3 separate regions of the Homo sapiens genome follow, and regions 1 and 3 are each linked to region 2. The links are contacts of gene promoters, found by promoter capture Hi-C in blood cells and fetal thymus (Javierre and others, 2016). All regions are on one chromosome and are shown on one strand. The core of a region is centred on a gene start or on the middle of the fragment in contact, and the rest is flanking DNA. Distances in the headings are between cores, read along the strand shown. Region 1 overlaps LINC01266 (long intergenic non-protein coding RNA 1266). Region 2 holds the start of CRBN (cereblon). Region 3 overlaps LOC107986059 (a long non-coding RNA gene).

The links. The method cuts DNA at HindIII sites, captures the fragments that hold promoters and counts their contacts. A CHiCAGO score of 5 or more calls a contact.
Region 1: a contact is called between a fragment that was not itself captured here and the fragment with the promoter of CRBN in region 2, in 1 of 17 cell types (fetal thymus). The highest score is 8.7, in fetal thymus.
Region 3: a fragment that was not itself captured here is called in contact with the fragment with the promoter of CRBN in region 2 in 1 of 17 cell types (endothelial precursors); the score reaches 5.8 in endothelial precursors.

What each region holds. Positions count from the first base shown.
Region 1 is chr3:626,290-630,213 of GRCh38, forward strand. All of the region lies in intron 1 of LINC01266 (long intergenic non-protein coding RNA 1266), which reads left to right. Among named protein-coding and RNA genes, the nearest start is that of LINC01266, 36 kb to the left of the region's middle. The HindIII fragment of the contact is 5,117 bases long and covers 1-3,924 here.
Region 2 is chr3:3,177,024-3,180,940 of GRCh38, forward strand. It overlaps CRBN (cereblon), which reads right to left and starts at 2,668. Exons shown (of 11, transcript NM_016302.4): 1 at 2,598-2,668. The coding sequence starts at 2,664. RefSeq lists a silencer at 2,732-2,901. The HindIII fragment of the contact is 7,719 bases long and covers 807-3,917 here.
Region 3 is chr3:896,103-900,041 of GRCh38, forward strand. All of the region lies in intron 2 of LOC107986059 (a long non-coding RNA gene), which reads left to right. Among named protein-coding and RNA genes, the nearest start is that of CNTN6, 190 kb to the right of the region's middle. The HindIII fragment of the contact is 1,161 bases long and covers 1,925-3,085 here.

The sequences.
Region 1 (3,924 bases), core at 689-3,188, 2.6 Mb before region 2:
CGCTAGAAAAACTCTTCTGTAGACCGTACTATTCTTCAATTCCCAACTTATATTCACTTGCTTAGTTGATGTCTTTACAACAAACAGAAAGATCTTTCACTGAGGCTTTGAATGAAACATTTCTATATATAAATCAAACATAATTTGCAACTAAACAATTTATTTTCCCACATTGCCTTGTGTTAGATAATGAACTTTTCTTTAACTCCTTCTAAGTATGTGACACATCTTCTCCACTGGAAAGTTCTTATTTAATATTATAACTGTAATGTCCTTTGATTTCTTCTTTTTGTGATACCATGTATAATCAATACTGTATGACCTTTTATACACTTTGGTCACTTTTTTTGATGAGGCAAGGGATGTATTCACATGCATGATATGGTCGTCACCCACATACTTACTATATGTGTAAATAGAGGGAAAACCACCTTGGGAAAATGTTCTCTACTTCATCATGTTACTTTTAATATGTCAATTAGGCCTATCATATTTTCCAATAATCAAGCTAATTTTTGCCGCTTTTTCACAAAGGAGGACTTTGAAAAGTTGTTAATGAAGCTCAGACCACCAACTTTTGCTTTTGGGTGTTGTCTTAGTCTTTTTGGGACTGCTGACACAGAATACCCAAGGCAAGGTGGTTTATAAAAAATACATATTTCTTTATTTTTTTAAAAAATATTTCGACTTTTATTTTAGATTCAGGAGGTACATATGCAGGTCAGTTCCATGAGTATATTGCATGATGCTGCTGTTAGTATGATTGATCCTGTCACTCAGGTAGTGATCATAGTACCCAATGGGTAGTTTTTTAACCCTTGTCCCACTCTGTCCCTTCCCAATCTAGTACTCTCCAGTATATATTGTTCCCATCTTCATGTTCATGTGTACCCAATGTTTAGCTCCCACTTATAGGTGAGAACATGTGGTATTTGGTTTTTGGTTTCTACAAAGAACAGATATTTGTTTCTTATAGTTCTAGATGCTGGGGAGTCCAAAAATCAAGTGACCCACTTCTGGTGAGGAACTTTTTGCTACATCACCCCATAGTAGGAAAGCAAAGGAGTACATGCTCAAAAGATCAAGAGACTGAACTCACAGCCCCCAACTCTTTTATAATTGGCATTATTAATCCATTCATAAAGATGGAGCCCCCTTCACAATCACCTCCCATTAGGCCCCACTACCCCACACTGTTGCATTAGAGATTAAGTTTCCAATATATGCTTTTAGGGACCACATTCAAACCATAGCATTCCAACCCTGGTCCCCGAAATTCATGTCATTCTCACAAGCAAAATGCATTACTTTCATTTCAATACCCCCAAAGTTTTAGTTTGTTCCAGCACCAACTCATAAGGCCAAAGTCGAGAGTCTCCTCTAAAGAGAATGGTGGTGAGAGTCAAGGCATGATTCATTTTGAGGCAAATGCCCTCCAACTATCAGCCTGTGAAACGAAAGCAAGTTATCTACTTCCAAATTACAGTGATGGAACTGGCATAGAGTAGACATTCTCATTCCAAAATGGACAAATAGGCAAGAAAAGAGGGGTAACTAGTCCCAAGTAAGTCCAAAACCCAATAGGGGGAAAACAGTAAATCTTAAAGCTGGAGAATAACTTTTTTAACTCCGTGTCTTGCCTTCTCAGCACACTGGGACAAGGATTGGACCTCCAAAGCATCAGGCAGCCCATCCCTATGACTTTAGCAGGCTTACTCCACCTAGCAGCTCTCATGGGTTGGAGTCTTATACCCGTGGCTTTCCCAGGCTGGAGCAGCATATTGATGGTTCAGCAGTTCTGAGGTCTTGGAGGCTACTCCACTCTCATGACTCCACTAGGCATTGCCCTAGTGGGGACTTTCTGCAGTGGGTTTGCCTCTGCGGCAAGTCTTTGCCATGGTCTCCAGTCTGTCTGTAACATGCTTTGAAATCTAAGTAGACGTTGCCATGGTCCCAGAGCTCCTGCCCGCTGTGCACCTGCAGAATTAGTACCATGAGGATGCTGCCAGGATTTACAGCTTGTACCTTTGGTGGCTCAAGCCTCACTTGGGTCCACTTGAGCCAAGACTAGGATGGCCAAGAGGCACTGCATTCAGAGAGCAGAGTCCTAAAGCAAAGGGCAGTGAATCCTGAGGTCCTGTAGCCACCTCTCTGAAAACTTTGCTCTGAAAACAAGGCAAGTCCTATCTTGCCTTGAAGGTCTGTGAAATGCCTTTAAGGTCGTTCTTCTATTGTCTTAATCAATAGAACCTGGCTTGCTTCTACCCATATTAATCTCATTAGCAAAGAGTCACTTGGCCACACACTTAATATTCTCTGCTGAACACACTTTTTAATTCTTTACATGGCCAGGCTGAGATTTTTCTAAATCTTTCTATTCTGTTTCCCTTTTAATGATAAATTCCATCATTACATTATTGTCTCCTTCTCTTATTTTACTGTAAGCAGCTAATAGAAGCCATGCAGCATCTTGAGTACTTTGATGCTTAAATATTACTTCTGCCAGACCTGCTAGCTCATAGCTCTTAAATTCTACCTTCATGAAGTCCTAGGACATGGACAGGATTCTGCCAACTTCTTGGTGACTGAATAACAAGGATGGCCTCTACTTCAGTTTCCAATACTTTGTTATTTCCACCTGAGATGTCATCAAAATGATCTTTACTTTCTGTATTTCTCCCAGTATTCTGATGATGACCACTTAAATAATCTGTAAGAAGATTTAGGTTCTTTTTACAACTCTTCTTTTCTTCTGAGCCCTCAGAAGATGCACCCTTAATGCTCCCTGTATAGTAAGCTAGGCTTTTATAGCCTGCTCTTCCAAATTCTTCCAGTCTCTACTCTTTACCCTGTTTCAAAGCCCTTCTCACATCTTCTGGTATTTGTTATAGCAACAGTCCCACTTCCCAGTACCATTTATTTATCTTAATCTGTTTGGGGTTGCATAGCAGAATACCTGAGATGGAGTAATTTATAAAGAACAGATCTTAAGGTTCTGGAGGCTGGGAAGTCCAATGTCAAAGATCCTGCATGTGGTGACAGTCTTCTTGCTGCTTCCCATGGTGGAAGGACAAAAATGCACATGCATGAGAAAGCAAGTGATAGGACATGCAGGCTGAAGTCTTTCATAAACAGTATTATTCCATTTATAAGTATGGAGCTCTTCTGACCAAAACACCTCTCGTTAGGCCCCACTTCCCAATGTTGTTGCATTGGTTATTAAATTTCCAACATGCTTTTTGGGGAACACCTTCAACTCATGGCAGGTATGGATGTATGTGTGTATAAATACATAACAAACACAAATATATATATGTGTGTGTGTGTGTGTATGTACATATGCACATACACATTTATATAAATATAAAAACATCTATGGTTTCCTGGGGATATTATCTTGGAATCCTGCATTTTTTAATAAGTACAAAGTGATTAAATGTGAGCTCATATTCGAAAACCACTTCCTTTGCCAAGGCCCAGGCCAGTCACAAAAGAGGTTATTAGCATTTCATTAGTTGGATTTTCTCTGTTGCGTCTATTAAAGAGCCTCCATTTCCCCCATTAATACAGTGGGTTTGTTGTCAGAGGGTGGCAGCATTATAAATAATGTGTGCACTTTTAGGTTACCAGTTTGGAGACTAGGCCTATGTTCTGAATGTTTTCCTGAGACCATATGGATAATCTTTTGGCATCATCCAGACTCAAACCCTCTGACTGCTTCTAATAATGCTGGTGCTTTCAGTGGTCACAAAATAGATCACAGTCTCAAGGATCAATGTAAGATTTGAAGGTAAGGACATCTTTATGTGTAGAGGGACATTTTCTGATCTGGTAAATAACTTATCAAGCTGAGGTGATTTTTTTCTCAGTTGTCTCCCTTCCCTTATCAACACACATCTCTATTTCAATTTTACTGATTTATGT
Region 2 (3,917 bases), core at 1,418-3,917:
AACTAAGGGAGTCCTACTGGCATCTAGTGGGTAGAGGCCAGGGATGCAGCTAAATATCCTACAATGCACGAGACAATCCCACCCAAAGAATTCTCCAGCCCAAAAGTCCAGTGCTGAGGTTGGGAGACCCTGGCCTAGACTAACAATAAAGAATTACTGAATCTCATTTCTCACCTCCCAGTTCATGTATTTTTAAATGCCCCAAATAAACTTCTAAATCGATAAAATGTCATTACGAAATAATCATTTGTTTTCCTTTGCATATCATTATTTAAGTCAAACCACCTCTAGCCAGGCCCCTGACAGAAAATAAAAATGATTTTCAATATGGTAACTGCCTTGGACTTTCTATTTATTATTACAACTTCCTAGATATAAAACTTTGTCAAAAACAGAATTACTTCAACTTATATGTAAATAGCCAATGGTCTAACACTTCATACAAATTTTCCTTGGAACATGTAAGTTTCACTGAGATAAAAAAAGAGCTATCTAAATGGATGACAAAAATATTCTGCATCAAATTGTTTGTATTTCCAACTCTGACAGTATGGCTATCACTTGGCATGCAGCACAACCCACTTTATTGCTCTACTACAGAAAGTTTAAAAGATAAACTATTAGCTCAAAGGCTGGAATTAATATTGTTAAAAATTTACATTTTAACTGTTCTGACTCCTAGTCTCTAAATAATTTCTTTAGTAACCTTTTTTTCATAAATATGGCTAAAAACCACTTTCCCCTACTCAGTTATGTTTATTAATGTTTCATTTGCCTAGGATAAACTCTTCACATCTCAAATATAAAGCTTTTTGTTGGAACTTAGAGGATTTACTCTTCAGAACAACTCGTACTACATGGAATTATGGAAAGCCCAGTGTTTCCCTACAAATAAAATTTACGTAATTTGGAGAGGCATTATTGCTATATCTACACCATCTCTGGGCCCTCTCCCGACGCTTTTCTGAAAAACAAAAAACAAAACAAAACAAACAAAAAAAAAACAAACAAAAAACCACGCTGACTGTTCAGAGCTATCAGTGAAGTCTGATGACTCATCTCATGCAGAGGCACGATGTGAATGTCGACAGAAGATCAGTATCCTCCCTCTTCTATTCACCATTCTCCCTGAAACACCGGATTTGGCACAGAGAGTAGGGCTAATGTCTCTGAAAAAATAGCTCAGCTTTCCATCAAAGGCTGGCACACTTACCCTTGTGTCAACTCAGCTAGAATGGCTTCGAGAACAACCAGTGACTATGGTTTATTTTTACAGAAAAGTTCTCTCCTATATGGTGGGCACGCACTCAGTCTCTTCCTCTTTTAATCCATGCTGCTACCAGTGGACAAATTAATCTTCCAAGCATAGATTTCTTTAGGCAATTACCTGAAACCTAAAACTGTTTCTTGGCAATCCACAGGAAAAACCCAAACCCACTGGCAAGAGATGCCAGTTTCCCAGCAACTTAGACCCAATATACCTCCTAGGCCTTATGTCCCACAACCATATCCTAAATATGTGCTTTTAGATGTCTCCTGATCTACCTGAAAGGCTTTTTCCCAAATCCTCTGACCCTTAAACAACCTCTGCCTCTGAAGAGCCACAACAGCATTCATTTATCTGGCCCTAAATCAACCGCCTCTGCAGTTGATTTACGTTTAGTTATATTCTCAGCAGCCCCGCCTAGACAGTAAACCTCAATTATCAGATTGTGTATTACCTCTCGTTTCATCTCCACAACACCTAACATACTTGTCATATAACGAAGGGACTCAAGTAATACTTTCAAGTTTGGATGATACACCTTTTGGAAAGCATCTCTTGAAAGGCATTCCATGAAAAGTTTATGCAATATTCCATGCATTTTTTTTTTTGTTCAGTATTTCAACACAAGGCCAAAGTCTAAACATTTCACACAACATACAGGAAAAAGAAAAACTAAGTATCTCTGATTAAGCATAATCGTACATGCCTGAGAAAGACCGATAGTAAGAAAAACAAAACAGAGAAGTGGTTTAGAGATATAATGACAGACACACCCGGGTTGGAATCCTGACTCTGCTGTGTGACCTTGGGCAAGTCATTGAACTAATCTGCAAATCCAATACTCGCTTATCAAATCGGAAACTGAAAACTGATGTGGGAAGGATTAAAAGGCGACATGCATGCAAAGCGTTAACTGCACGGCTCGTAACATGGTAAGTGCTTAGTACATGTTAGCTGTCACTCTTATTAAAAGGAAGGAGACCAGCAAAAGTAACCGCTGTGAATCTGACCCGGTCCTCTAGTTTCAGAGCATTTCCTAGGAGCTAAACTCAGAACACAAGGAGGATGGAGAGGATGGGTTTCCTGTTCTTAATAGCAAATGCTCCCCCCGACACCCTGGCTCACGGCTCGGGGCAACAGAGCAGCGAAGAAAGCGCCGCGACTCCATCGCTGGCCGAGGGCCGACGTGAAGCAGCTTTCCGGTGCGGCCCTGCTGGGCTGGCTCGCCAGGCTTGGCGCCCCCACGCCCGCCTCCCAGGCCCAGCTGCACCGCTAGCGGCTCCGAGCCTCGCCCCACTCCCGACTACAGGGAACTACTCCGGGCGGTTACCAGGCAGGAGCGGCAGGTGGTTGCCCATGTTGTGCGCAGCGTCCTGCTGATCTCCTTCGCCGGCCATGTCTGTTTACCCGCAAAGGAGGCTGGGACAGGGCGGTGCCGAAGACTCCGAGGGAGGGCCCGTGTCGCGCGGCTGCCGCGCACCGGGGCCACAGCGCCCCCTGGCGGCCCCAGGGGAGCAGACGGCGGCGCGTACCCAAGCCTGAAAGTGATGGCCTAGGCGGGAGGGACAATTACAGGCCTGCGCTCCGTCCCGGGGACAGAACGCCGTCCCCTGCCATCCACGGCTGAGTGCCCGGCGTACACGCTGCAGAGCCCTCACTTTGTTCCAGCCCTTAGCATGACTTATTTAATCCTGATATTTTGCATATGGAGAAACTGAGGCTGAGAGCCTTTAGTCTCCACCTTGTTTTTAAACGAAGGGGGCAGGGAGCAAATAGAAACCTGTTCATGCAGCATTAGTTTCAATTCTTAAAATAAGAAGCATATATGTGAAGGCTGGGGAAATCCATCAGTTATTCCGAGGGTGGTTGAATTATTGCTGATTTTCTTCAGTAGTTTCAATGTATGTACATACAACTTCAATAACTTCAGTAGTTTCCATATATGTACATTACATTCCAAAATTAACAAGTATTAATCAGAAACATACTTGAAATGATGATTGCACAGAATGGAAAACGCCTTATAATTGGTAAATAAAATTGTCTGAATATAAACTAGCCTACTCATTATGACTTCAGCTATGTAAAAACAAGTCACTGTGGCAAAAAAGAAAGACTATGTAAAAAATGAAGATAATTCTGTTATAATGGTGGAGTTGTGACTGGTAAGATATTTGTTTTGGAGGGAGGACAAAAGTTTTCGTAGTGTATTTCAGTATCACTTTTTCAGCGAGGAAGGAAAACTGAAAAATCCTTAAATGAAATACAACATCTAAACATGGTAGTGGTGGTGGTGGGCGGAGGCTGAGAGGAAGCAGCAGCATTGCTCAACAGAAAAGTCATGGATCTGAGATTTGAAAAAATGATTTCAGAAAATTTGCCTCCCTGATAAGTTACAAGCAGAAAACTCCCTTGTGACAGAGGCTTGTGAATCATTCCTGTGTCATTTTGCCTCCTGTCTCCGAATCAGTCTGTGGTCTTCGTCAAATCACTTATGGCTGCGGGCCTCAATTCGCCCATTTGCAAAATAAGAACGAACCAAATAGTGTCGCCTATTTGTTCCAGTTAATAATGTCTGCAACATGAATCATAGCATCACCTTTTACGATGAGGTTAATAACAATTACATATACTACGTAATGATTTAACG
Region 3 (3,939 bases), core at 1,255-3,754, 2.3 Mb before region 2:
CAGTGAAGAGAGATAGGGGTGGGGCCATTTTATAAGATTTGGGTAGGTAAAGGAAAATTACAGTCAAAGAGGGGTTGTTCTCTGGCAGACAGGAGTGGGGGTCACAAGGTGCTCAGTAGGGAAACTTTTGAGCCAGGATGAGCCAGGAGAAGGAATTTCACAAGACAATGTCATCAGTTAAGGTAGGAACAGGCCATTTTCACTTCTTTTGTGGTGGAATGTCATCAGTTAAGGCAGGATCTGGCCATCTGGATGTGTACATGCAGGTCACAGGGGATATGATGGCTTAGCTTGGGCTCAGAGGCCTGACACATAGGATTTAAAATATGGAGAGAATAAGAATACATGGCAACAATAGCATAATAGATGGAGTGAAATTGAGTTAACATCTAAATGCCTTGCATTTTTGCGGAAGCTTTAAACTACTATCTTATATTAGAAATGAATAAGGATATATATCGTATGTTTAAGGAAATTCACCATAGAAAACAAAAAGGATGTACTATATAATAGTAAACTAATGAAGAATGTAATAATGAACTACTCTCAATATAAAAGAAATAAGTAGGACAATATAAAACAGATAGGACAATTTATTTTATTTTATTTTACTCTAAGTTCTGGGATATATGTGCAGAATGTGCAGGTTTGTTACATAGGTATACATGTGCCATGGTGGTTTGCTGCACCTATAAACGTGTCATCTACGTTTTAAGCCCTGCATGCATTAGGTGTTTGTCCTAATGCTCTCCCTCCAATTGCCCCCCACCCCCTAAAAGGCCCTGGTGTGTGATGTTCCCCTCCCTGTGTCCATGTGTTCTAATTGTTCAACTCCCACTTATGAGTGAGAACATGCAGTGTTTTGTTTTCTGTGCCTGTGTTAGTTTGCTGAGAATGACGGCATCCAGCTTCATCCATGTCCTGGCAAAGGACATGAACTCATTCTTTTTTATGGCTACATAGTATTCCATGGTGTATATGTGCCACATTGTTCTTTATTCAGTCTATCATTGATGGGCATTTGGGTTGGTTCAAGTGTTTGCTATTGTAAATAGTGTTGCAATAAACATACATGTGCATATGTCTTTATAGTAGAATGATTTATAATCCTTTGGCTATATACCCAGTAATGGGATTGCTGGGTCAAATGGTATTTCTGGTTCTGGATCCTTGAGGAATCACCACACTGTCTTCCACAATGGTTGAACTAATTTACACTCCCACCAACAGTGAAAAAACATTCCTATTTCTCCACATCCTCTCCAGCATCTGTTGTTTCCTGACTTTTTAATCACCATTTAAACTGGTGTGAGATGGTATCCCATTGAGGTTTTGATTTGCATTTCTCTAATGACCAGTGATGATGAGCTTTTATTCATATGTTTGTTGGCTGCATAAATGTCTTCTTTTGAGAAATGTCTGTTCATATCCTTGGCCCACTTTTGGATGAGGTTGCTTGATTTTTCTTGTAAACTTGTTTAAGTTCCTTGTAGATTCTGGATATTAGACTTTTGTCAGATTGGTGGCTTGCAGAAATTTTCTCCCATTCTGTTAGTTGCCTGTTCACTCTGATGATAGTTTCTTTTGCTGTGCAGAAGCTCTTTAGTTTGATTAGATCCCATTTGTCAATTTTGGCTTTTGTTGCAATTGCTTTTGGTGTTTTAGTCATGAAGTCTTTGCTCATGCCTATGCAGATAGGACAAATTTTTAAAAAATTCATAGAATAGTCCATTTAAACTCAAATAGTTCAGCTATTACATTAAGTTAATATGGACAAAATCCTGCAATTCGTAGGCAAACAATTTAAAATTGAATACTGAAACAAAATGTAACTGTGTTCTGCTGATAAGAGATGTGTCTTTAATACAAAAATAAGAAAGACTGAAAGTAGAATTACGGAACATGATAAACCTAATCAAAACAAAGCTTGTAATTCTAAAGAAACTATACTGAAAAGCAAGAAATATTTATACATAAAGTTTGAAATTTTATAATGATAAAAAGATAAAACAACAGAAAAAGATGACAAAAATAACTTTGTAAGCATTTAATAACCTAATCTCAAAATGAATAAAACAAAAAAGTACAAAATAAATAAACAATAGAAGAAAAATAATGAATAGCTACATTTACAGTCATAGTTGAATAATGCAGTTTTTCTCAGTAACTAAAGAATAAGCAAAAGATGATTGGATAAATTAAATATGTTATATACATATAATGAAATATAATTTTGCAATAAAAATAAATGAAGTATTGATACATATTACATTAAACATAAATTCAACTTGAAAACTAAGTGAAAATCCAGTCACACCCTAGACAAAAACTTACAAAAAGATATTGTAAAATTCCATTTTTATATAATGTATGTAATAAGTAAGTTCATGGAGTTAGAAAGTATTTTGGTGCTTGCCTGGGACTGATAGATGAAGGTGGGGGAATAATGAGAATGACTGCTGATGAGGACAAGTGTTTCCTTTTAAAGTGATACAAATGTTCCAGAGTTTGATGATGGTTGCACAAATGTGTGAATGCAATAAAAACCACTGAATTATACACTTTATTTGATAAATTATAAATTATTTATCCATAAAACTGCAAAAATGATTTTTTAACTAAAACTTGCATTCAATCTCATCCACCTGTAAATGGCATTAAAATTATTTTCAGTTCAGTATATTCTAGACCAGTGGTTTTCAACCAAGCCTAACTTTGTCTCACAAGGAACATTCGTAATGTCCGAAGACATATTTGATTGTAACAGTAGAGGTGGAGTGGGTATTTGCATTAACTAGGTAGAAGCCAGAAATACTAGTAAAAATCTTACAGTAGGTAAGACAGCTTTCAACCAAAACAATACAAAACAAAACATGTAACTGCCCCAAAATATCAATAGTGCAAAGGTTAACAAGCCCTCTTTTAGAGACATTGATCTCTATTCCTATATAATTTTTAAGCCTCATGGTAATAGAGTCTATCTTGGAATGTGAATGAAGCATAATGTAAACATTACAAGCAACAACATGTCACATTTTTAGAATTTACATCATTCAGAATACCCCTTAGTATCACCTGACCCCAAAGCTTAGAATGATTTTGCCAATTTTGCAAATATGAAAACTTAGATTATGTTATTCTTTTTCTAATGGGCCAAGAAAGGTATAACACTACACTGTCACTTTTTTTTTACTTCTATACTAATTACTTTCTGAATATATATAGATATCTAATCTATCTATCTATCTATTCTTTTACCACTTAAAAATATTATTTTAATCTGTTTAAAACTAAGGCCTAGCATTAAGAGATATACCTAATGCTAAATGACAAGTTAATGGGTGCAGCACACCAACATGGCACATGTATACATATGTAACAAACCTGCACGTTGTGCACATGTACCCTAAAACTTAAAGTATCATAATAATAAAATTAAAAAAAAAACTAAGGCCTAAAAATAAGAAGTGCTATTTTGTCTGACAGCAAAATAAATAAGTAGTTTTTAAAATAGTAAGCTGAAGTTTAATAATTATGTTAAAATTATAGTAACTTTTTTCTGCAGTAATTATTTTTGATAAAAATTAATGCAATTACATGACATAAAATTAAGATATAGTTTAGTAAGAAAAACACAAAACAATAACCATTGTAGAATGAAAATAAGTTTTAATATATGAAAGACTTAAGAATCCTTTAATACATTAAACTGACTGATACTAGTGTTCTTTGCTGAATCATAGGTAACATATTTATTGATTTTTAAAATAGGGTTAGCGTAGAATAAATGAAATTTATAATTTAATAGTCATCAACTTCACATTCATTTTGCATACCACAGGAGAAAAAAAGAGGCTCAGAAAGATTAAGTTCTAAGGATAATTGATTTTAAAATTGGGGCCAGAATTAGGACTCAAACGCATATTTTCTGAGGTCTAG